Linked DNA regions of Homo sapiens: all the other regions are linked to region 1. The links are contacts of gene promoters, found by promoter capture Hi-C in blood cells and fetal thymus (Javierre and others, 2016). All regions are on one chromosome and are shown on one strand. Each heading gives the region's core, a stretch centred on a gene start or on the middle of the fragment in contact. The rest is flanking DNA. Distances are from core to core; before and after follow the strand shown. Region 1 holds the start of HIKESHI (heat shock protein nuclear import factor hikeshi). Region 2 overlaps LOC105369422 (a long non-coding RNA gene). Region 3 has its middle 4.4 kb from the start of TMEM126A. Region 4 has its middle 9.8 kb from the start of CREBZF. Region 5 overlaps PRSS23-AS1 (PRSS23 antisense RNA 1). Region 6 overlaps SYTL2 (synaptotagmin like 2). Region 7 overlaps SYTL2 (synaptotagmin like 2).

Region 1 (2,907 bases), core at 233-2,732:
GCATAAGCACATACAAATTTAAAAGTAGGAGTTGCTCAGAGAATTCAAAAGTATGGCTAGTGCACAAGGTGGGTATGAAGAAGACATGGAAAATTAGTTAGGAAAGGCAATAATGCTAAATATTAACATTTATTGAGTAAGCTACATTCTGGCCACTATTGAGTACTTTACGTGTAAGAACCCTCAAAACAACTTTATGAGGTAGATACTACTATTACTTCATTTTAAAGATGGGGAAAAGGAGGTATGGGAGTGTTAGGTTAACTTGCCTGAGATTATGTAACTAATAAATGGCAGAGATGGGCTCTGAACCCAGGTAGTGTGGGTGCCTTAATTTATGAAGTGGTCTTCATATGAATGGCCTTTTTATTCTGAAGGTTCTAGGACTTTTTAGATAGTAAGTTGGAAACATTGGTAGATCCTTTCCTACCTCTTCACCTTTGGCACAGCTATCTCAAAGGAGTATCGGTGATAAGATAGGTGATCAGTTTAGGGATCCACAGTGGAGGCCAGAGGACTGTTCCAAACACTGATCCCCCATATATAAACTGAGAACTGGGAAGACAGACCTGCTTTACGGCTGGTGGCCAAGCTCAGATATTTCAAATTGGACAGAGACCCTTTACTATCCTATTCAAGAAGAAAAGGAATTGGAGCTGTGAAAGGGAGAATAAGTATTGGTGGCAATCGGTACTTAATGCCAGTATTTTTTTTTTTTTTTTTGGCTATTGTTTTGTATTTCCTATGAAACTTTTCTGCAGATCCACATAGAAAAAAAATAGACATTTTTACAATAAAACTCCCACTAATTAAGCACAGCCAAGCACTGTTTTAAGTGTTTTATACATATTAGCTCATTTAATCCTCACAGCAACCCTAGGCAATAGGCTCATTATTTGTCTTTTGCAAAGGAGGGGCACTGAAGCACAAAGACATCTACAACTCGTCCACAATTGTACAGCAAATGAATGGGAGAACTAAGTGAAGCTGGAAAGAACTACTATAAATTGTAGACAAGTACAAAACAATTGGTTAAAGATTAATACTTCTGAGACACTGTGTAGCAGAAAGAAACCCGGATTTGGATTAGGACTTGAATTCAGCCTCCAACATTTACTGCTGTGTAAAGATTTGAGGCTGATCACTCCTATAAAATTTGGATTATAATACTTACCTCATAGGGTTTTTGTAAAGATCTAGTGACGTGATTATTGTAAAAGTGCACCGTTAATCTCTCAGATGTCACAGAAACGTTAGAAGCATCTCTTCCCAGGATTGTACATGGAAATGAAGGATCCACAGATTTTGTGGCTATAAAACACCCGGACTACCGATCCCAGTGTGCAAAGCCTCCAGGCTTACCTTCCCGGAAACTGGCGCGGTGCCCTCTGGGACTTGTTCTGGGACTTGTAGTCTTGTACTGGCGCTGGCCCGCCTTTCTTCCTTAGTGGGGAAAACCGGGTGTAAGCCCCGGAAGTACTTGTTGCCTGAGCAGTGGGCTGCTTAGGAAGAGAAGGTCAGAGTTCGCGGGGGCAGAGGCATTCTTGCCGCTGGCCCAGTCACTATGTAGTGGAGGGGCAGACACCCTCCCGCAAATTCTGGAAGGTTCTTAGTCTCGACTAGGGCAGTAGCCCCAGGACTCCTAGTCGCCGGCTTCAGGTCACTGCCGGCTGAACGGAGCTGCCGTCGCCATGTTTGGCTGCTTGGTGGCGGGGAGGCTGGTGAGGATGGGACCGGGTGATATCAGGAAGGGGTCAGGATACCGAGGGCGAAGCCCTACGGCAGGGAGGGTGCGCAGGCGCTAGGGATGCGGGGAAGCCCACTTATTATATTTTGGGTGGGTATGTGAGGATGGAGCGTGGGAAGCTGGGTGCTCTCCTTTGCCCAGCTCTATTCAGATTCTTTCGAATAGTAGTCACAGTATAAGTTGGCATTTATTAAGTGTGCATTTTGTACCAAGTACTGGGCTAAGTGCAATGCACGCCTTTGGTCACTCAGCCTTATGTGTGGCGCTTATTTGGCACTTTGAACTTAATCCTCATAACTCGTGAGATGGTCTTTATCTTTGACATTTTGCAGTTACAGAACTAAGTTCAATCGCCAGTATAAATACCTTCTTTATTAACTTGAGGTAGAGGTGAATTTGGGATTGAATTTGGTCTATAGCAAACTGTTTTTCAAAGATTAAGGTGCTCAGGGAATGTATATCTTTTGGGTCCCTTTGGAAGAACCCGAGTAAAAATAAGCTTAATTTAATTGGAAGTTGGCTGAAACTTAACGTGTGAGCCGTATCTGAGATAACCAGAGAAGGATGCGAGTAGTGTGTTTCCTTATGGGTCAAAATAGATAACTTACCTTGCCAAATTGTTAGAGTAAATGAGAACAGCACCTGGAATTCTTTAGGAATAATCTGGAAGGTGAATCTTGTTTGTTTCCTTAGAAACCACACAGACATCAATTTTCAGGCCTGATTCCTTTCCCCTAGAAGTATTTTTCCTTCTTTTTTCTCCTGGCTTTTTAAAATGTTGCAGTCCCTTTGCTGAATTGTCTTTTTTTCCCATCAAGTTTTGATAATGTATTGTATTCTGTACATATACAGTTCTAAGAAGCCAGAAAGATAAGTTGGAGATGACTAGCCTCATAAAGTTTGTCTCTTGAATGACTGGGAGACCCCTGTGGTGATGGTGGTAATTCATAATCCTGGTGAGATAATTTTGCCCTGCTCTTAATAGGGAAAAAGGACAAACCTGGAATGATTGTGTGACTCAGACGAGTGAGTGTTATTAATGAATGACATTAAAATTGTGTTTCTTAAAGAATAAAAAGCCTATTTGGAATCCATGTATCTCTCACGTTGTCAACTAATTTGGAAGGAAATTTAGTTATGGTAATACCTGCCTCTATATA
Region 2 (2,907 bases), core at 232-2,731, 730 kb after region 1:
ATGGTGGCTCATGTCTGTAATCCCAGCACTTTGGGAGGCTGAGGCAGGTGAATTACCTAAGGTCAGGGAGTTTGGGACCAGCCTGGACTACATGGTGAAACCCCGTCTCTACTAAAAATACAGAAATTAGCCGGGTGTGGTGGTGGGTGCCACTAATCTCAGCTAGTGAGGCAGAAGAATCACTTGAGCCCAGGAGGCGGAGTTTGCAGTGAGCCGAGATCGTCCCATTGCACTCCAGCTTGGGTGACACAGCAAGACTCCGTCTCAAAAGAAAAGAAAAGAAAAGAAAATCAGAATCATATGTAGCTTTGTGAAAAGCTTGGTTACTGACTGTTGCTGGAATCAAGAGCTACTACAGTGTCATACTTCGAGTTTGCCGTACTTTGCCATTGTACTTGTGCCTGATAATTATTTCTACAATGACTGCATGTAGATCTAAACTAGATTAGTGTCGTTAAATCCTCTGCATTAGATCTTAAGAGCTCTTCCATTCTTTTTCGTTGACATCTTCAAAACTAGAATCCTACAAGAGCAACAACTTTGTGTTTTTTTTTTTTTTTTCATTCTTCCATCACAAAGAAAGGGGCAACAATTTTCATCTTGGCGTTTCTTCAAAGCCTTTGAATTCCATCATAAATTGCCAGATTAGTTTTCTTCATCCACTGTGCACCTTCTTTGGAGAAACTCTTTGCTTCACCTTGTTGATGAACCCTAAAGCCCTCCCTGCGTTTTTTTAATGAAAAAGAAGAAACAATGAAGCCCCCAGAAAGTATCCAATCAAGCCACTGTCATAGCCAACCTAAAAGAATAAATGACCCATGCAGATGCAATGTTTAACATTATCTTTAAACTTAATGGTGGCATGAAGAGAAGGCTTTCTTTTAAAAAACAGCCTGCTATATCTTATAATACCATATAAAGAAATTTACAAATGTAAGCTACTGGTTTAACTGCATACTGCTCCATTTTGCAATTTTTTTTGCATCCTAAAGCACAGATCATCTCCCCTGAGGATTTATCAATGCCTTCCTGTTTTGGAATCTCCATAGCAGCACTAGAAAAGATAGAGTATCCTTTCTTTTGAACTTGGGAGTTTCCCTGAAATCACCCCTTTGCCACCCAGCTCATCAGCATTGTCCCCTTTGGCACCATCCCCTTTTTCTCAAATTTCTTTATGCTTCAAGTCTCCATTTAACAGTTAATTAGGACCAGGTGTGTTGGTGCACACCTGTAATCCCAGCAGTTTGGGAGGCTGAGGTGGGTGGACAGCTTGAGCCCAGGAGTTCAAGAGCAGTCTGGGTAACACAGGGAGACCCTACAAATAATTTAAAAACATTAGCCAGGTGTGGTGGCGTACCTGTGGTCCCAGCTACTCAGGAGGCTGAGGCAGGAGGATCTCCTGAGCCCAGGGGATATAGGCTGCTGTGAGCTGTGATTGCGCCACTGCACTTCAGCCTGGGTAGCAGAGTGAGACCATGTCTCAAAACAAACAAAAAACAGTTAACTAAAAGAAACCACCTGGTTTTAATTGTAATTTTAAAATTTCCTTATTTATTAATGTGTAATTGCTGGGCCACATAGTAAACATATTGTTTATTATCAGGCATGAAAACTATATTGTGCTATTACATTCAGAAGCAACTGAGAGTTAACAATCATATTAAAAATTTTTTTTTTTTTGAGACGGAGTCTTGTTCTGTTGCCCAGGCTGGAGTGTAGTGGCACCATCTCGGCTCACTGCAACCTCCGCCTCCCAGGTTCAAGTGATTCTCCTGCCTCAGCCTCCTGAGTAGCTGGGATTACAGGTGTCCACCACCATGTCTGGCTACTTTTTGTATTTTTAGTAGAGATGGAGTTTCACCATAGGCCAGGCTGGTCTTGAACTTATGACCTCAGGTGATCCACCAAGCTCAGCCTCCCAAAGTGTTGGGATTATAGGTATCAGCCACCGTGCCCAGCTCGTATTAATTGTTTGGTGAATAAGATGTTATTTGTATAGTATTGTACATCTTAACATGATCATTTTTTGTTAATATTTGATACTATGTTTTAAATACTTGTTAAGAATTTTTTGGTTGATATGTAATGCATTTTATTTTTTCCCATTTAAAACTAAGTTCCTATTCAGCATTTTCTTGTGAAAGGATCACAGATATTCAGGAATGGATTATTGAAAAAAAATAAGCCTGCACTGCTATTTCTGTAATTTTTTGGATAAGTTTATGCTGTGTTTTTGATCTTCTTAGTTTCTGAATTGGAGATTTGAAAAAAATTGTGATTATCTTGTTCCTATTCTACCATTGTATATTGGATGTGTTGAGGCGGATGATAACTTTATCATGAGATCTGCATCTGGTCCTGAGGAATATTCTGGACTTTGGCTAGGATTCAGCAACTGCATGGAATTTTAGGTTGTCTCCCTTGGAAAAGGGAAGGTATGTCTATCTGTAGAAAGAATGGTGTGCCCGGATATTTGGGTAGCCAGAGACATAGAACTATGGCAGACACTGCTAGTTGCCTCTAATATCTGTTTTTTCCATTTTGCTCAGTAATAAAACCTCAAATGTTAGCTGGGCATTTGTCCCATTAATTAAAAAAGATTGTATTCACCATCCTCTCTTGCAATGAAGTGTGGCCATGTGATTAAGCTTTGTCCAAGGAACGTAAGTTGTAGTAGTTTGTATGGATCTTCTGGGAAGTTTTTTTAAAAACAGGAAGTATGCCCTTTTCTCCCCGCCCCCGCCCCCCCGTTTTTTTTTTTTTTTTTTTTTTGAGATAGAGTCTCTCTCTGTTGCCAAGGCAACAGTGGTGTGATCTTGGCCCACTGCAACCTCTGCCTCCTGAGTTCAAGCGATTCTCCTGCCTCAGTCCCTGAGTAGCTACGATTACAGGAGCGTGTCACCATTT
Region 3 (2,907 bases), core at 234-2,733, 660 kb before region 1:
GGACCAGTATCTACTTTATAAATCTCAATAAACTTAAAAGGATTCAAATCATACAAAGTATATTTTCTGACCAGAATGGAACTGAATTGGAAATCAATAGCAAAATGGTATCTAGAAAATTGGAACTATTACTAAATTAACACACTTCTAAATAATCCACAGGCCAAAGAGGAAAGCAAAGTGAAATTAGAAATTCTTTTGAACTGAATTAAAATAATACAGAACATTTAAAAATCTATGGATACAGTTAAAGCAGCACTTGGAAATTTGTAATGATAAGCACATATGTTAGAGGGGAAAAAGATCTCAAATCAATTACCTCAGGTATGTTTTTAAGAAACGAGAAAAAGAGGAGCAACTTAAATCCTAGATAAGAATAAGAAAGAAACAATATAGAACAGAGGGGGGAAGAAATAGAAAACAGAAACCAATAGAAAAGAACCAATAAAACCAAAAGGTGGTTATTTGAGATTTTCAAAAATAATAAACAATTAGCATAAAGAAGGGAAGACATAAGTGACCAATATCAAGAGAGATGTTTCACCACAGATTCTACAGATGTTAAAATATAACAAGAAAATATTTTTGAACAATTTCAGCCAATAAACTTGAGAACTTAGGTGAAATGAATAAATGAATATTTGATCTTGTTTTGTGAAGATTTGTGAAGTTCACTCAAAAAGAAATAGATAATCAGGGTAGCCATATATCTACCATGAGTATTGAATTTATAGTTAAATCCTCCCTACAAGGAAAACTCAGATCCAGAAATCTTCACTGGTAAAGTCTACCAAACATGTAAGGAAGAAATAATAATATGATGCAAACTCTCCAAAAAAATTGAAGAGATGGGAACACTTGCCAACTCATTCAATAAGTCCAGCAATATCCTGATATCAAAGCCAGATAAAAACATTTTGAGGAAAGAAACTACAGCCTAATACTCCTCATGAACATTGATATAAAAACTTTTGACAAACTTTTAGCAAACCAAATACAAAAATATATATAAAGAATAGTACCTCATGGCCAAGCGGGGCTTATTCCAGGATTGCAAAATTGACTTAACATTTAAAAAAATCACTCAATGTTTTGTTCCACCAAACCCACAGCAGGAGTCACCCCAAAAGTGACAGCAGGGGAGTTTCCACAAGGGAGTGTCCAGAGTTATCCTGAGACTGGGCTGGTTGGGATTCAAAGAAAGAAGCACTAAACACCAGGGTCATCAGTCCAAAGCATTTATTAGGGGAAATTTTATATGACTGAACTGCAGCAATCCTCACCACAAACAGCAAGAGAAAAGGCTAGCAGTTCACAACAAGGGGATTAGGATATGGAGTTTATATGAGGGCTTAGGAATTTGGCTCAGGGCCAGGGCCAGTTTATTTTAGTGTTTTGGGCAACAACCTAGATACCTTTATCAGTGCCTGGAAATGTTTCAGGTCTCGGTTTGGATTCAAGCCTGCTAAGAAAAATCTGCAGCTGGCCAGGTCACAAAGCAGTCAAGGCGCTCTGTGATTTTTGGTCAGGACACGGAAAGATGGCTGGGGAACGTGGAGCCCCTACACAATATAATTCACTGTATCAACAGACTAAACAAGGAAAAAAAACAATCATCTGAATAGATACAGAAAAAGCATTTGACAAAATCCAACATCTGTTCCTGATAAAAACTCCCAGCATGAGGAAAAGAAGGGAACTTCCTTAAGATTTTGAAGAGCATTTACCAAAAAACCTATAATTAACATGATGATGGTGGGAAACTGAATGACTTCCCCCTAAGATCAGGGAAAATGCAAGAATGTCTGCTTTATTGCTTCTAGCCAACATTGTATGGGAGAGTCTAGCCAGATTGGAAAAGAAGAAATAAAATTATCTATGTAATTTTTAAAATCCTATTTGATTTAGCAAGGTTGTAGGTTATAAAATGTAAAAGAAAAAATAAATTGTAACTCTCCAGATAAGCAATTAACAATAAGACCAAGCAATTTGTCCATTTTGTCTAAATTGTCGAACACAGTGGGTTAAAGTTGTTCATAATATCCTCTCCTTATCCTGTTAATGTGTGTAGAATCTGTATTAATGTCCCTTCTTTCAGTCCAAAAAGATTTAGTTGTTTGGTCTCTTTTTCTTTTGATTAGTCTTATTAGGGCTTATTGATTTTATTAATATTTTCAAAGAATCACAGTTGGTCTTTTCTCTATTGTTTTTGTCTTTTCCCTTTCATTTATTTCCACTCTTACCTTTATTATTCCTTCCTCTTTGATTTCCTTTTTGCTTAATTTGATTTTTTTAAAAAAATATTGATTTGGTTGATTTTGCCCTTGATTCTAGGGCATAACCCTTAGTCATTGGATGTAGTCATTAATTCTAAGATGCTGCTCAGTGGAATGTCCAAAGTTTTCACCCGGTCTGTATAACTTGGAAATATTTAAATTTCCGATATTTGAATTTAAATATTCAAAAATACACTGTCTTCCCAGCATCAGATGACTGCTGAAATTTCACTTTATCTCTTCCAGTCTTCCAACTGTTGCTGTCCATTGGGTTCTTTGGGTCTTACCACATGCATGTACTGTTATAATGTCAGCCAAAAATTTGAGGGGATTTTTTAGACAGATTTTGGGGTTCCCTTTTCAAGGTTCCTGCCCCAATTTTCAGTTGATCTGGCATTTCCAAATTTCAACTTCTGAGTGTTTTAGAATGGGAAGAATGCTGCTTTATACTGACACTCGATATTCCCCATGTACTGCACAGACTAATGCCCTCATGAAAAAAAGCTGGATAAATGTGGATCTTACCCACTATTTTTCCCATCTTTCAAGAATTGTATACCTTCCTGTGTTTTCATGCTATTTTGGTTGCTTTCCAGGGTCTTTGAAAAGAATCTCTTCCTTGTCCAGAGTT
Region 4 (2,907 bases), core at 170-2,669, 630 kb before region 1:
AAAAATGCTAACCATCATCTGAGCCTTCAGTGAGTCACAATCTTTTTGCTGGTGGAGGGTCTTGCCTCAATGTTGATGACTACTGACTCATTAAGGTAGTGGTTGCTGAAGGTTGGGGTGACTGTGGCATTTCTTAAAATATGACAGTAAAGTTTGCAGCATCAACTGACACTTCCTTTCATGAAAGATTTCTCTATAGCACGTGATGTTGTTTGATACCATTTTGCCTATGGGAGAACTTCTTTCAGAATTGGAGTCAATTCTCTCCAACCCTGCGGCTGCTTTATCAACTGAGTTTATGTAATATTCTAAATCCTTTGTTGTCATTCAAACAATGTTCACAGCATCTTCACCAGAAATAGATTCCATCCCAAGAAACCATCCATTTTTCTTGGCTTATCCATAAGAAGAAATTCCTCATCCATTCAAGTGATATCATGAGACTGCAGTAATTCAGTCACATCTTCCAGCTCCAACTTTAATCCTAGTTCTCTTCTTACTTCTATCACATCTGCAGTTATTTCCTCCACTAAAGTCTTGAATCCTTCTAAGTCATCCATAAAGGATGGAATCCTCTTCCAAACTTCCAAACAAACGTTCTCAATGGCATCTAGAATGGTGAATCCTTTCCAGGTTTTCAATTTATTTTGCTTAGATAGATCAGAGGAATCACTGTGTATGGCAGCTTTGCCTTAATGTATTTCTGAAACAATAAGATTTCAAAGTTGAAGTAACTCCTTGATTCATGGCTTGCAGAATGGATGTTGTGTAAGCAGGCATAAAAACTTTAATCTCCTTGTAAATCTTAATTACAGCTCTTGAGTAACTAACTGCATTGTCAATGAGCAGTAACATTTGGAAAGGAATCTTTTTTTCTGAGCAGCAGTTCTCAACAGTGGGCTTAAAATATTCAGTAAACCACACTGTAGATAGATATGCTGTCATTCAGGCTTTGTCATTCCACTTATAGATCACAGTTAGAGTAGATTTAGCATAATTCTTGAAAGCCCTAGGATTTTTGGAAGGGTAAATATGAGCACTGGCTTCAACTTAAAAGTCACCAGCTGCATTAGCCCATTAGCCCCTAATAAGAGAGTCAGCCTGTCCTTTAAAGCTTTGATGCCAGGCATTGACTTCTCTAACTACTAAAGCCTTAGAGGGCATCTTCTTCCAATAAAAGGCCTTTTTGTCCACAGTGAAAATCTGTTGTTTAGTGTAGCTACCTTCATCAATTATCTCAGCTGGATCTTCTGGAAAACTTGTTGCTGCTTCTCCATCAGCACTTGCTGCTTCACCTTGCCCTTCTTTGTTACAGAGATGGGTTTTTCTCTCTAACTTGGCTGTGGTGCTTTTACTTCTCATTGCTAATTCCAAATCATTTCTTCTCCTCTCTCCTTCAGAATACCCAAACCTCATGAACCAACCTCTGCTAGCTTCTGCTAGCTTCCAGCTTTTCTTCTGCAGTTTCCTCACCTCTTTCAGCCTTCATAGAATTGAAAACAGCTAGGGCCTTGCTCTGGGTTTGGCTTCGGCTTAAAGGAATGTTGTGGCTGGTTTGATCTTCTATCCAGATCACTAAAACTTTCTCCATATCAGCAATAAGGATGTTTTATTTTCCTATCATTCATGTGTTTACAGAAGTGGCCCTTTATAATTTCCTTCAAATTTTTTTTCTCAAAAATATTTCCTCTGCATTCACGACTTGGCTAACTGGTGCAAAAGACCAAGCTTTCAGCCTGTCTCTGCTTTCAACACACCATCCTCACTAAGTTTAATCATTTCTAGCTTTTGACTTAAAGTGAGAGATGTATAACTCTTTCACTTGAACACTTAGAGGCCATTGTAGGATTATTAATTGGCCTAATTACAATATTGTTGTGTCTCAGGAATAAGCAGACCCAAGGAGAGGGAGAGAGACTGGGGAATGGCCAGTCAGTGGCACTCAGAACACACACAACATTCATCAGTGAAGTTTGCCATCTTATATGGGTGCTGTTCATAGCACCCCCAAACAATTACAATAGTAGTATGAAAGATCAATGATCACAGATCACCATGACAGAGATATTAATAATGAAAAAGCCTGAAATAGTGTGAGTTACAAACCACAGAGACACAAAGTGAACACATGCTGTTGGAAAAATGGTGCTGATAGACATGCTCAACTTATGGTTGCCACAAACCTTCGATTTGTAAAAAATGCCATATACGTGAAGCAGAAGAAAGTGAAATGCAATAAAACAAGGTATGCCTGTGGTACAGAGACGAGGGTGCTCATTTTACTTTAGTTTGCCTGTCTACCCATGAAGTATAATTTGTAAGGGGTAGTGAGACCATGAGGGGACATTAGGACTGGATGAAAATTGAAGAAATCAGGTGATTGACCGTGTCTAGGGCACTGTTGGATTATGTTTACAAGCACTACATACATATTTGCATGAAATGTGCAATTCCCAGTGTGCTAGCTGTATTATATTTCCACTCCTCTAACTCCTTCTCAAGAAAGCGTTTCTGAACGCAACTGAATGAGAATTATACTATTGTGGACTAATCTGGAATATATTTTATTTTAAAATTACCATCATTTGTAACCAACTGAAATAGTGAGAAATTACTAGTGTATGTCCTAACTAATCAAACCTCACAGTTGCTGCCACTCAAGTTGAGAATTGCTGCTTCAGTGGAGGAAAGGGAGCAGGCATAGAAGTTTGAGCATGAAAGATTTGGAAGGGTAGGAAGAAAGCTTTTCATATTCTGATAGCAAGGACTCCACTTCTCAAGTGGAAGTTGTTTCCTCTCTCACCGCAATGGGCACCTCGGAGCCAGAACTTGGCTGTTGTGCTCTTACTTCTCATTGCCAATTCCAAATCATTCCTTCTGCTCCCTCCTTTAGGAACCCCAAAACTT
Region 5 (2,907 bases), core at 226-2,725, 620 kb after region 1:
ACAGGAAATTAATAGATGCGAAGACCTAATTCCCTGGCCACAAAAAATTCACTGTGTAGTAGCAGAGACAGAGGCAGAAACAAATTATTTCAATAGAATTCAGTATATGCTAGATTATTAGCCCAAAGGAAGAAGTAAAACATTTACCCACACTTAGCAATCACATTTAGCTATTTCATTTTTAGTAATGAGGCCTATAGCTCTCACATACCTTTGAATTTTAGAAAATGTTAAGACGACTCTTTTTGCTGAAAATAAAAAGATATCACCTTCACAAAGGATGAGCTCATTTACGTAGGAAATAAAATAAAGCTATTGTGTCAGTATATACAGAAATGAATGTAAATGCAGAGATGAAGCTTGGGCAGGGAACACACCATTGCCAAAGTGCTTATTGGGAGAGAGGAGAAGGTAATAGGAGGGTGGTGAGAAGGTTGTTCCCTTGTTTCCCATATATTTCTGTATTATTTGAAGATTTTAAATCAAAGATGTATTCATATATTGTTTATGTTATAATTGCATTATTGTCTATGTACAGAAAGAAAGAAAGAAGTCTTCTCCCAGATATCCACATCTGCTTCAGATCTTTGTTCAAATGTCACTTTCTGAATATCCTATTTTTAAATTGCCACCTCACCACCATTAAAATCCCCATCCCCTTCTCTGTCTTCATAGCATTTACCACAATCTGACATCCTATATATTTTACTTTTTTACAAAATATTATTGTCTGTCTCTCCCAGACAATTAGAATGTAGGCTCTGTGAGAGCTGAGATTAGTGTGTGCCAGCTTTACAGCTGTAAACCCAGGGCCGAGGACATATACCAGGTGTTCCACAGGCCAACAGCCTGAATGTATACAGCATTATGCTAACAGCAGTTATTTCTGAATGGAGAGACTACAGATGTCTTTTATTTTCTTCATTCTGCTACTTGGTATCTGAATTTTTGTAATGAGCGCATATTAATTATATTACCTAAGAAAACAACAAAGCTCTTTGAATTTATTATTATTTTAATAACCTGGGAACTAAGAAAGAGGCTCCAGTAGAAGCCACCATGGAAGGAGTAAGGGCCTAGTGGGAGTCAGGCCAAAGAGCATAGGCGAAATCTCCTGAGATACTTGGTGGAGTAAAGTTAGTTGGAATTAAAAAACCAACTAACTTATGACTCCTCCACTGCCTCGCAGTTTCCAGACATCCGCAAAAATGCCTGGTGCACGGGTCACTGTTTCACAAAGGGTCTTCTGCCTCATAGCTTCCCATCCCCAAGCAGCGGGGCCCAGAAATTTGCCCACATCCTTCCATCCAGCAAATGTTTTTATCTGGGTCCTACTTAGGTTTCAGCCAATTCTTTGCTGAGCAACTTGGCTTCCTGTTTTCCTTGGGAACCAGACTCTTTTTAAGTTGGAGCCATAAAAAGAATGAAATCCTTTACCTGATACTTTTCTATTCGGGTATTCAAGCCTGCCACAGACGGAGGCCCTGTGGGCCACTCTCTCGTTGTGGGCACTGGCATCTTAGCCCAGCACTTTGAATAAGGCACATGTGAGAGTGAATGCTGCGCTTTTTTCATTCTTTTCTTCTCTCTCTCTTGTTTTTTTTCTGTTCTATTTCTAATTGAAAGCCATTGTCTTGAGTGAATGATTGTAGAGAAGGCTTACTCCTCATCTCAAAATGCCATCTCATAGGAGCAATGGGAGAAAGTGGTCCTGCCAGTCTGAAAGTTAAGAGACTTGGTTTCTCATAATTGTTCTGCCATTAAGTTGTTACGTGATCTTAGTCAAATCATGTTACCTCCCCGGGCCTCCGTTTCTTCATCTGCAAAATAAAGTTCTTTGCAGTGTTTCTCAAGTCCCTGCCCAAATCAGTGTTTGTTTAACTGAGGATGAACAGTGACACCTTGTGGTTCTCCTTGAGCCATGTCTTTGTTTTTTCTAGCCCAAGTTTAAGGGAGCCAAGGGTATCTTTGCCTGTTCCCCTGCCTGGCCCACCTACCCTAGCAGCTTCACTTAGCATGGCTCTAACCTGGTCTCCCCCTAGATTCAGAAAAGTGCATCCACCCTTTGTTCACCAGCTGCTTCCCAGCCTCAACTTGGCCAATGTTGCTAAAATCAAACTACAAGTAGACTGCAGACGCCAGCGTGAAGGCCTGTGCTTCTGTGGTGAGGTCTGCGGTTTGGTGTGAATGTGAGGGTATCAGCCCCAGGTGTTTTTTAGGGCTGCTAGTGCAGTCCCAGAGAGGGACCTGGGCAACAGCTCAAGGAGCAAGACTGAAGATTTTACTGTTTTCCAGCACTCCTACGAATTTGTAAAATTATCAGATTCCAAATTGTTCTATGCCATAGTTTTTCCATTCATAAAATAAGAAAAATCTGCCATAGCACTGCCTTCAAACTCAGTTAGTCTATTCATTCATTTACTTATTTGTTCTTCAAATATTTAATAAGCATCTTCCTGGTGCCAAGTTCTGAGCACCTACCTGTGCCAGTAGTCCGAACTTGAGAAGACACAGTCTCTACTTTTCAAGACCCTGTTCTTGTCTAATGAAGAAGAGAGAAGGAGGAAAAACTTCCATTGCCATGCAATAAGGTAAGCTTATGGCAGATAATGTGTACACATAATGGCATGGAAGCCTGGGGACAAACATCATACTAGGCCTGGGAAGAATGTTTGACAGAGAACAGGACACTTAAATACGGACGTTTACAGAATGGAGTTTGCCAGAGGAGACTCTTCAGGAAGAGAGAACAGAGTGGGAATAGGTACATAAACATGATCTATCTAGATGCCCTACCGTAAAATCAAAACACAAAACCCTACTGACTCAATTCCCTCCCCTTCCAGATATTACCCCATTTCTCTACTTCCCATTGTAGCCAAACTTTCCAAAAATTCATGTTCTGTC
Region 6 (2,907 bases), core at 139-2,638, 600 kb before region 1:
TCACATTGTGCAGATACAAATTTTTGGAGAGTGAGGTGAAACCTAATGACTATAAACTAAACTAAAAAAAAAAATGAGAACTTTCTTATAGAAACAGAAAGTAAAATGATGATTACCAGAAGCTGGTAGTAGAGGAAAAGGAAATTGTTGGTTAATAGATAAACAGGTTCAGATTTGCAAGATGAAAAGGTTCTGGAGATCTGTTTCCCAACAGTGTGAATATACTTAGCACTACTAAGCTGTACAGTTAAAAATGGTGAAGATGGTAGATTTTATGTTTTCTTTTTTTTTTTTTTTTGCCACAATAACAAAAAAAGAATTTTCTTATTTACAACTGTGAATAGACTCATTTGGTCTATACGTTACTAACTTGATAAGTTTCTTTAGGGCCTCACCTTTGAAAACGCATAGTAAATACTGTGAGAAGGGAGGGATAAGGAAAGGACATAAATCTGAATAGAAAGTCATTACATACCAGGGACTGGCTCTGGGACATACTGGAGAGCTAGTTTCATTTCACCTCTGTTTTCTGCTTCAAGGGCAACTGGTGCTGTCTGAAAAGTGAAGAAATGTCAGCAGGTGGGAGACAAACTTTTCATCCTGTTTGTTGGTATAGGTCTCATTACAGAACCATATCTGTCCCATTTCTGGGACCATGTGTCACTCATGAGTGCTCTGGATTAAAATTTCTCTCTGCATCAGAACTAGACTGTTGCCTTAATACCTGGGAAAACTAGGTTGTATATCTTGAAAAATCTTGCAGGATACCCAGAAAATATTTCAAGGCCTTTAGTCTCAAAGATGGTGAAGAAACCAGAATGGCTTTCTTGGAGATGGGAGAGGTTTCTTTGAATGCTTTAATTTTGATCAAAACACAAATATTTTGTTAGCTATTCAGCCAGCATATAAAACAATTTATTTGTATTCCCTTTATTTGAAGGAGTATGAGATAGTGTGTGAAAGTAAGGGGGGAAAGGCCATATCTTACATTTTCAAAGCTGCACTAATCTGATTATTTTAGGCCAAATGCATAGAAGTCTGTAAGTATAACAAAGACTGAACAATAATTTTTTAAACTTCTATCTGTTATTTTCAAGTACACGTTGAATATTCCTTATCTGAAATGCTTGGGATCAGAAAAGTTTCAGATTTCGGATTTGTTTTTTGAAATTCGTAATATTTGCATATACGTAATGAGATATCTTAGGGATGGGACCCAAGTCTAAACACAAAATTCATTTATGTTTCATATACATCTTCTACACATAGCCTGAAGGTAATTTTATATAACATTTTTAATAACTTTATGCAACCCATCACATGAAGCAGGTGTGGAATTTTCCACTTACGGCATCATATCGGCACTCAAAAAGTTTCAGATTTTGGAGCATTATGGATTTGAAATTTTTGAATTAGGGATGCTAAACCTGTATAAGAAACCTGCATAAGATAGTTTTTTACTTTCAAATTCTGGCTCTTTAGAGCTTTATTTTCAAAATATGGGTATGTATCAGAAACGTAATGGTAGCCAGTTAAAAATGAGATGCTTTTGATATCTTCTGAGGAGTTCAGGTCTTGGGTAGGGCTAGAAATAAGTGCTTCAAGTGATTTTGATATAACATTTGAGAACCATTTCTTTAGTGGAACTAAAACAGTTCCACTGTTGTGTAGACACTAAGTTATGGTTTGTATTAGTTATTTATATTTATCACTTCCTACTATGATGGACTAGCTTGGATCACATCAACCCCTAAACTAATAACAATTTAAAAGGTGGGATTTTAAATATCAGTTTGAAAGTGCTAAAGAATTATTAACACAGACAGGACTCAAATGAACAAGATCTTAGAGTCTGACATTCTTCTCTGCTTTTCACTTTGAGACATTTAAGTAGTGCCAAACTGAGCACATAAAAAGCCTAACAGAATGAGACTGAAAAGGTAAGCAGGACTTTTAGCAGTTTCATGAGGCTGGGGAGACAAAACTTGGAGCCCACGGCCTGTCAAGAAGGAATGGCACTGGAAAAACACTCTAGACCAGTGGTTTTCAAAGTACCGTTTCTAGGTCAGCTGCATTGACAGGGAACCTGTTAAAAATGTATATTCTTGGGCCCGTAAACCTTGGGAATAGGGCTCAGAATCTAGTGGGTCTATTTTTTTTTTTTTTTTGAGACAGGGTCTCGCTTTGTTGCCCACACTGGAGTGCAATGGCGTGATCTCAGTTCATTGCAACCACCACCTCCTGGGTTCAAGTGATCCTCCCATTTCAGCCTCTTGAGTAGCTGGGGCTATAGGTGCATGCCACCAAGCCTGGTTAATTTCTTTGCAAAGGCAGGGTTTTGCCACGTTCCTCAGGCTTGTCTCCATCCAACTCCTGGACTCAAGCAATCCACACCTCAGCCTCCCAAAGTGCTGGGATTAAAGCTGAGAGCCACCGCACCCAGCCCCAGAATCTGTGATTTAATAAGTCCTTCAGGTGAATCAGATGCATGCTGATTTTGAGAACTATTTCCCATGGCTTTCAGTTGGAACCTCTGAAGGGCCTTAGCCTAGGAATATAAGCAAACAAAAACTAGACCAGATCACATGAAAACTGGGCTTGTGCTTCAAAGTCAGTTTATTCCCAGATTAAATGAAGGTGGTCTGTGCCTGCTGTATCAGAAGCAAAAGTAAATCCTCCCCAATTATTCCTAGAACGTTCTCATATGCAATACCCCACATATGATCAAAAAATGAACGGGCATACCAAGACAAAGAACTAAGTGTCCAAACTAAGATTTTAAAAAATAGATAAGCAGGACTCACAAATGTTTAAGATACTGGAATTTTTAAGTACATACATTAAATAACTTTGCATGCTATATTTTTAAAGACAATGTTAAGATAGAGAATTTTAGGAGAGAAATGG
Region 7 (2,907 bases), core at 230-2,729, 580 kb before region 1:
CTTGGGATAGTCAGGACTACATTCCAAATTGGGAATACTGTCTTCAAACCCCTGGGAATCTGTGAATTTTAGGAAATGTTTGGTGAAGTGGCTTTTTCTTTTCTTTTTTTCATTTTTAAATTCTGACTTTTTATTCTTAATTGCAAATGCACAAAAAATATTCTAAACATAACAATGGCCAATTTTCAATCATATGAGTTTGGCAGTGGTTAACTTTTCACTTGATAATTTTTCTTATGACCATCTGCAATCCCAGGGGTGCATTTTAGCTTGAAAATAGCAAGAACAAAACCCCAAGAAATCATGGTTTCTTAGTCCATTTGTCTAGCACACAACTCTCTTTATATATTATGTTTTCTGCTAGTACTCAAGAAATCCTTCACCATTAAAGCAGCTGCCAGTGGGGAATCGTGTACCTAAAGTCTTTCATGTTAAGTAGTTTTGGGCTTATAGTTCCAGTATCTAGAAGAAAAGTGTGAACAGAATAGAAGGGATAAAAGAGAAAGGAAAGTCCTTGAAGCCAGGGACTAATTCAACTCCGTATCATGCAAAATTCACTGGACATCCAACGCTGTCATATATAATGTGGTCCCTTCATAAATGTTCTTGATAATAGCCTGTTAATTTTGAGTCCCAGATCTTCCGTGTAATACTAAAAAGGTCATTTCACATTTCTGAGCTTCATTTTCCTCATCTTTAAATTTGGATAACAATAATTCACCTCTCATAGGGTTGCTTGTGCTGGTTAAATGAGATAATACATGTAAAATTGTTAGGCACGTTTTGGCAAATAATATTCAATAAATGCTAGTTATGACTATTTTCACTAATACTACTAGCTACCACTATCCTTTGAAACTCACTGTACTTGAGAAACACTCAAACTGGGATTCTTCAATTAAAGGAAACCTAGTGTTTTAGTAACCAAATGTAATATATTATTTTATAAGCAAAGTTCCAGCCACTTTAGGTTGAGCCTCTTCAGCGCACTTTGGAGAGGTTATTTTCATCTGTTAACTGCCCCCATTAGAGGGTGCAGTGCACAACAGCACGCAGTGAGGCTACAGGAGAGCACATAGGCATTTTTAAGCTTAGATGGGGCATGAACAGTGAGGCGAACTTTATTCTCACTTGATGAATCTGATGAAATGTCTTCTAGACTTTTGGAAGGCATTTTCCTAGCGGCACTCCTTTCCAAAGTTTTCAAAACAGGACTGGGTTCTTCTTCTGAACCTGTTATAAAACAAAATCGATGAACACTGCACAATACCAAAAAAAAAAAAAATCCTCTAACATATGGACATAGAAATGGTAGGCTGAAAAGAGACATTATGCTATGAGTTTCTACTTTAAGAAGCACTTATTTCACAGAAGAAAATAAAATTTCTCCACTATTAATATGCTCTTAAACATAATTTTCCTGGTCAAGAAATATTTGCAAACGTAAACCCTACAAAAACAAGATTACCACATTAATAGAAATGTGATCTCTTAGTTGTTTACTCCTATTTTAGACATATGATTTGTCCTATGCCAGACATTGACTCTTCCCATTTAACATTCTAGCTTTTGAAGACAGCCATGAAATACTTCTAGGAGCATTAATAAAATTAATTCAAAACCGTGGAAGGCAGGATTCAGATGTTTAACATCTGTGTATAATTGGGTACACATATGAGTGCATTCTCCAGATCAAAGGTTGTAGACTTTCTGGGTTTCATGATCTAGTATAATTTCCAATGAAATGTTGGGAAATAACATGGGATAGTCAAATTTTTATTTTAGTAAGGCATTTTAAAGTTGCGGGAGGGAGGCCTCTATCATTTACTAATGCCGTTATTTTATAAAAGGAATGGCTGCATCATGAATAAGCTTAAGTACTGACATTTATTACTGCTGTATTCTCAGTGCCTAGAACAGTGGCTGGAAATAAACACTTCAAAATATTTGCTGAATCAATGAGTGATTCGATTAAGGAATCAATTAATTTAAGAACCACTTCTCTAGACAATAATTTCCTGAAATACATTCCAGTTCTGCCTAGTACATTCCATAGCAAATGGATTCTAAGATGAATTAGATTTGGATGTTCTCTGTTCAAATTTAAAATGTTCCTTACTGCGGACCTTCTCTGTGCATAATGGCCCAGCATTTCCAAAAGTATTTGACTACTGAACCTTTAATTTTTCCCAAAGGAGCATACTGAGGTATTGCTTAGTTAAGAGCTCAGCCGCAAGTCAAATGTGTTAGCTTGCTCCCCAAAATTACAGTACCCTTATAGTAGGTTTCTCTTCATTTTTCACCCCACCCCCACTGCAGTTTGCTTTAAAATAATAATTTAGGTTAGAGTATATAAACCTAAATTAAAATCATGACTATACCATTTGATACTTCTTAATTGGCTTGTTATTCTAAAATGTCTTCTCTGGGCTCTGTTTAGGTGATTTTTTTTTTTTTTTTTTTTTTTTTTGAGATGAAGTCTTGCTCTGTAGCCCAGGCTGGAGTGCAGTGGCGTGATCTCGACTCACTGCAAGCTCCGCCTCAGGGTTCACACCATTCTGCTGCCTCAGCCTCCCGAGTAGCTGGGACTACAGCCACCACCACGCCCGGCTACTTTATTGTATTTTTTAGTAGAGATGGGGTTTCACCATGTTAGCCAGGATGGTCTCGATATCCTCACCTCATGATCTGCCCGCCTTGGCCTCCCAAAGTGCTGGGATTACAGGCGTGAGCCACCGTGCCCAGCCTAGGTGATTATTTAACGCTGCCTTTTTAGATAGGCTTTTTACTATTCAGTCAGTTATGCTGGGATACACATTAGATGATAGTCTCTAACATAATTGCAAATTTGCAAGCGCTCCTTCTCCTGTGGGTCAGTTTACACTAGCAACTCATGGGCAGTTTAGT

The links. Contacts are between HindIII fragments. The CHiCAGO score rates a contact against its expected background, and 5 or more counts as called.
Region 2: a fragment that was not itself captured here is called in contact with the fragment with the promoter of HIKESHI in region 1 in 1 of 17 cell types (naive CD4 T cells); the score reaches 5.8 in naive CD4 T cells.
Region 3: a fragment that was not itself captured here is called in contact with the fragment with the promoter of HIKESHI in region 1 in 15 of 17 cell types (non-activated CD4 T cells, naive CD4 T cells, naive CD8 T cells and 12 more); the score reaches 33.9 in non-activated CD4 T cells.
Region 4: a fragment that was not itself captured here is called in contact with the fragment with the promoter of HIKESHI in region 1 in 12 of 17 cell types (total CD4 T cells, activated CD4 T cells, naive CD8 T cells and 9 more); the score reaches 12.5 in total CD4 T cells.
Region 5: a contact is called between a fragment that was not itself captured here and the fragment with the promoter of HIKESHI in region 1, in 1 of 17 cell types (endothelial precursors). The highest score is 6.1, in endothelial precursors.
Region 6: a fragment that was not itself captured here is called in contact with the fragment with the promoter of HIKESHI in region 1 in 5 of 17 cell types (non-activated CD4 T cells, total CD4 T cells, naive CD4 T cells and 2 more); the score reaches 8.3 in non-activated CD4 T cells.
Region 7: a contact is called between a fragment that was not itself captured here and the fragment with the promoter of HIKESHI in region 1, in 3 of 17 cell types (activated CD4 T cells, naive CD8 T cells and non-activated CD4 T cells). The highest score is 6.6, in activated CD4 T cells.

What each region holds. Positions count from the first base shown.
Region 1 is chr11:86,300,758-86,303,664 of GRCh38, forward strand. HIKESHI (heat shock protein nuclear import factor hikeshi) reads left to right here and starts at 1,483. Exons shown (of 5, transcript NM_016401.4): 1 at 1,483-1,721. The coding sequence starts at 1,692. The HindIII fragment of the contact is 4,753 bases long and covers 1-2,244 here.
Region 2 is chr11:87,033,515-87,036,421 of GRCh38, forward strand. All of the region lies in intron 1 of LOC105369422 (a long non-coding RNA gene), which reads right to left. Among named protein-coding and RNA genes, the nearest start is that of TMEM135, 3.0 kb to the right of the region's middle. The HindIII fragment of the contact is 2,330 bases long and covers 317-2,646 here.
Region 3 is chr11:85,642,088-85,644,994 of GRCh38, forward strand. No RefSeq gene overlaps it. Among named protein-coding and RNA genes, the nearest start is that of TMEM126A, 4.4 kb to the right of the region's middle. The HindIII fragment of the contact is 8,633 bases long and covers 1-2,907 here.
Region 4 is chr11:85,673,505-85,676,411 of GRCh38, forward strand. It overlaps a transcript of CREBZF not described here. Among named protein-coding and RNA genes, the nearest start is that of CREBZF, 9.8 kb to the left of the region's middle. The HindIII fragment of the contact is 614 bases long and covers 1,113-1,726 here.
Region 5 is chr11:86,917,875-86,920,781 of GRCh38, forward strand. The region is part of intron 2 of PRSS23-AS1 (PRSS23 antisense RNA 1); the gene reads right to left. It also overlaps a transcript of PRSS23 not described here. Among named protein-coding and RNA genes, the nearest start is that of PRSS23-AS1, 19 kb to the right of the region's middle. The HindIII fragment of the contact is 2,237 bases long and covers 358-2,594 here.
Region 6 is chr11:85,700,040-85,702,946 of GRCh38, forward strand. SYTL2 (synaptotagmin like 2) reads right to left here. Exons shown (of 20, transcript NM_206927.4): 17 at 476-554. Among named protein-coding and RNA genes, the nearest start is that of CCDC89, 15 kb to the left of the region's middle. The HindIII fragment of the contact is 3,118 bases long and covers 1-2,907 here.
Region 7 is chr11:85,719,727-85,722,633 of GRCh38, forward strand. It overlaps SYTL2 (synaptotagmin like 2), which reads right to left. Exons shown (of 20, transcript NM_206927.4): 9 at 1,132-1,233. Among named protein-coding and RNA genes, the nearest start is that of CCDC89, 35 kb to the left of the region's middle. The HindIII fragment of the contact is 782 bases long and covers 1,089-1,870 here.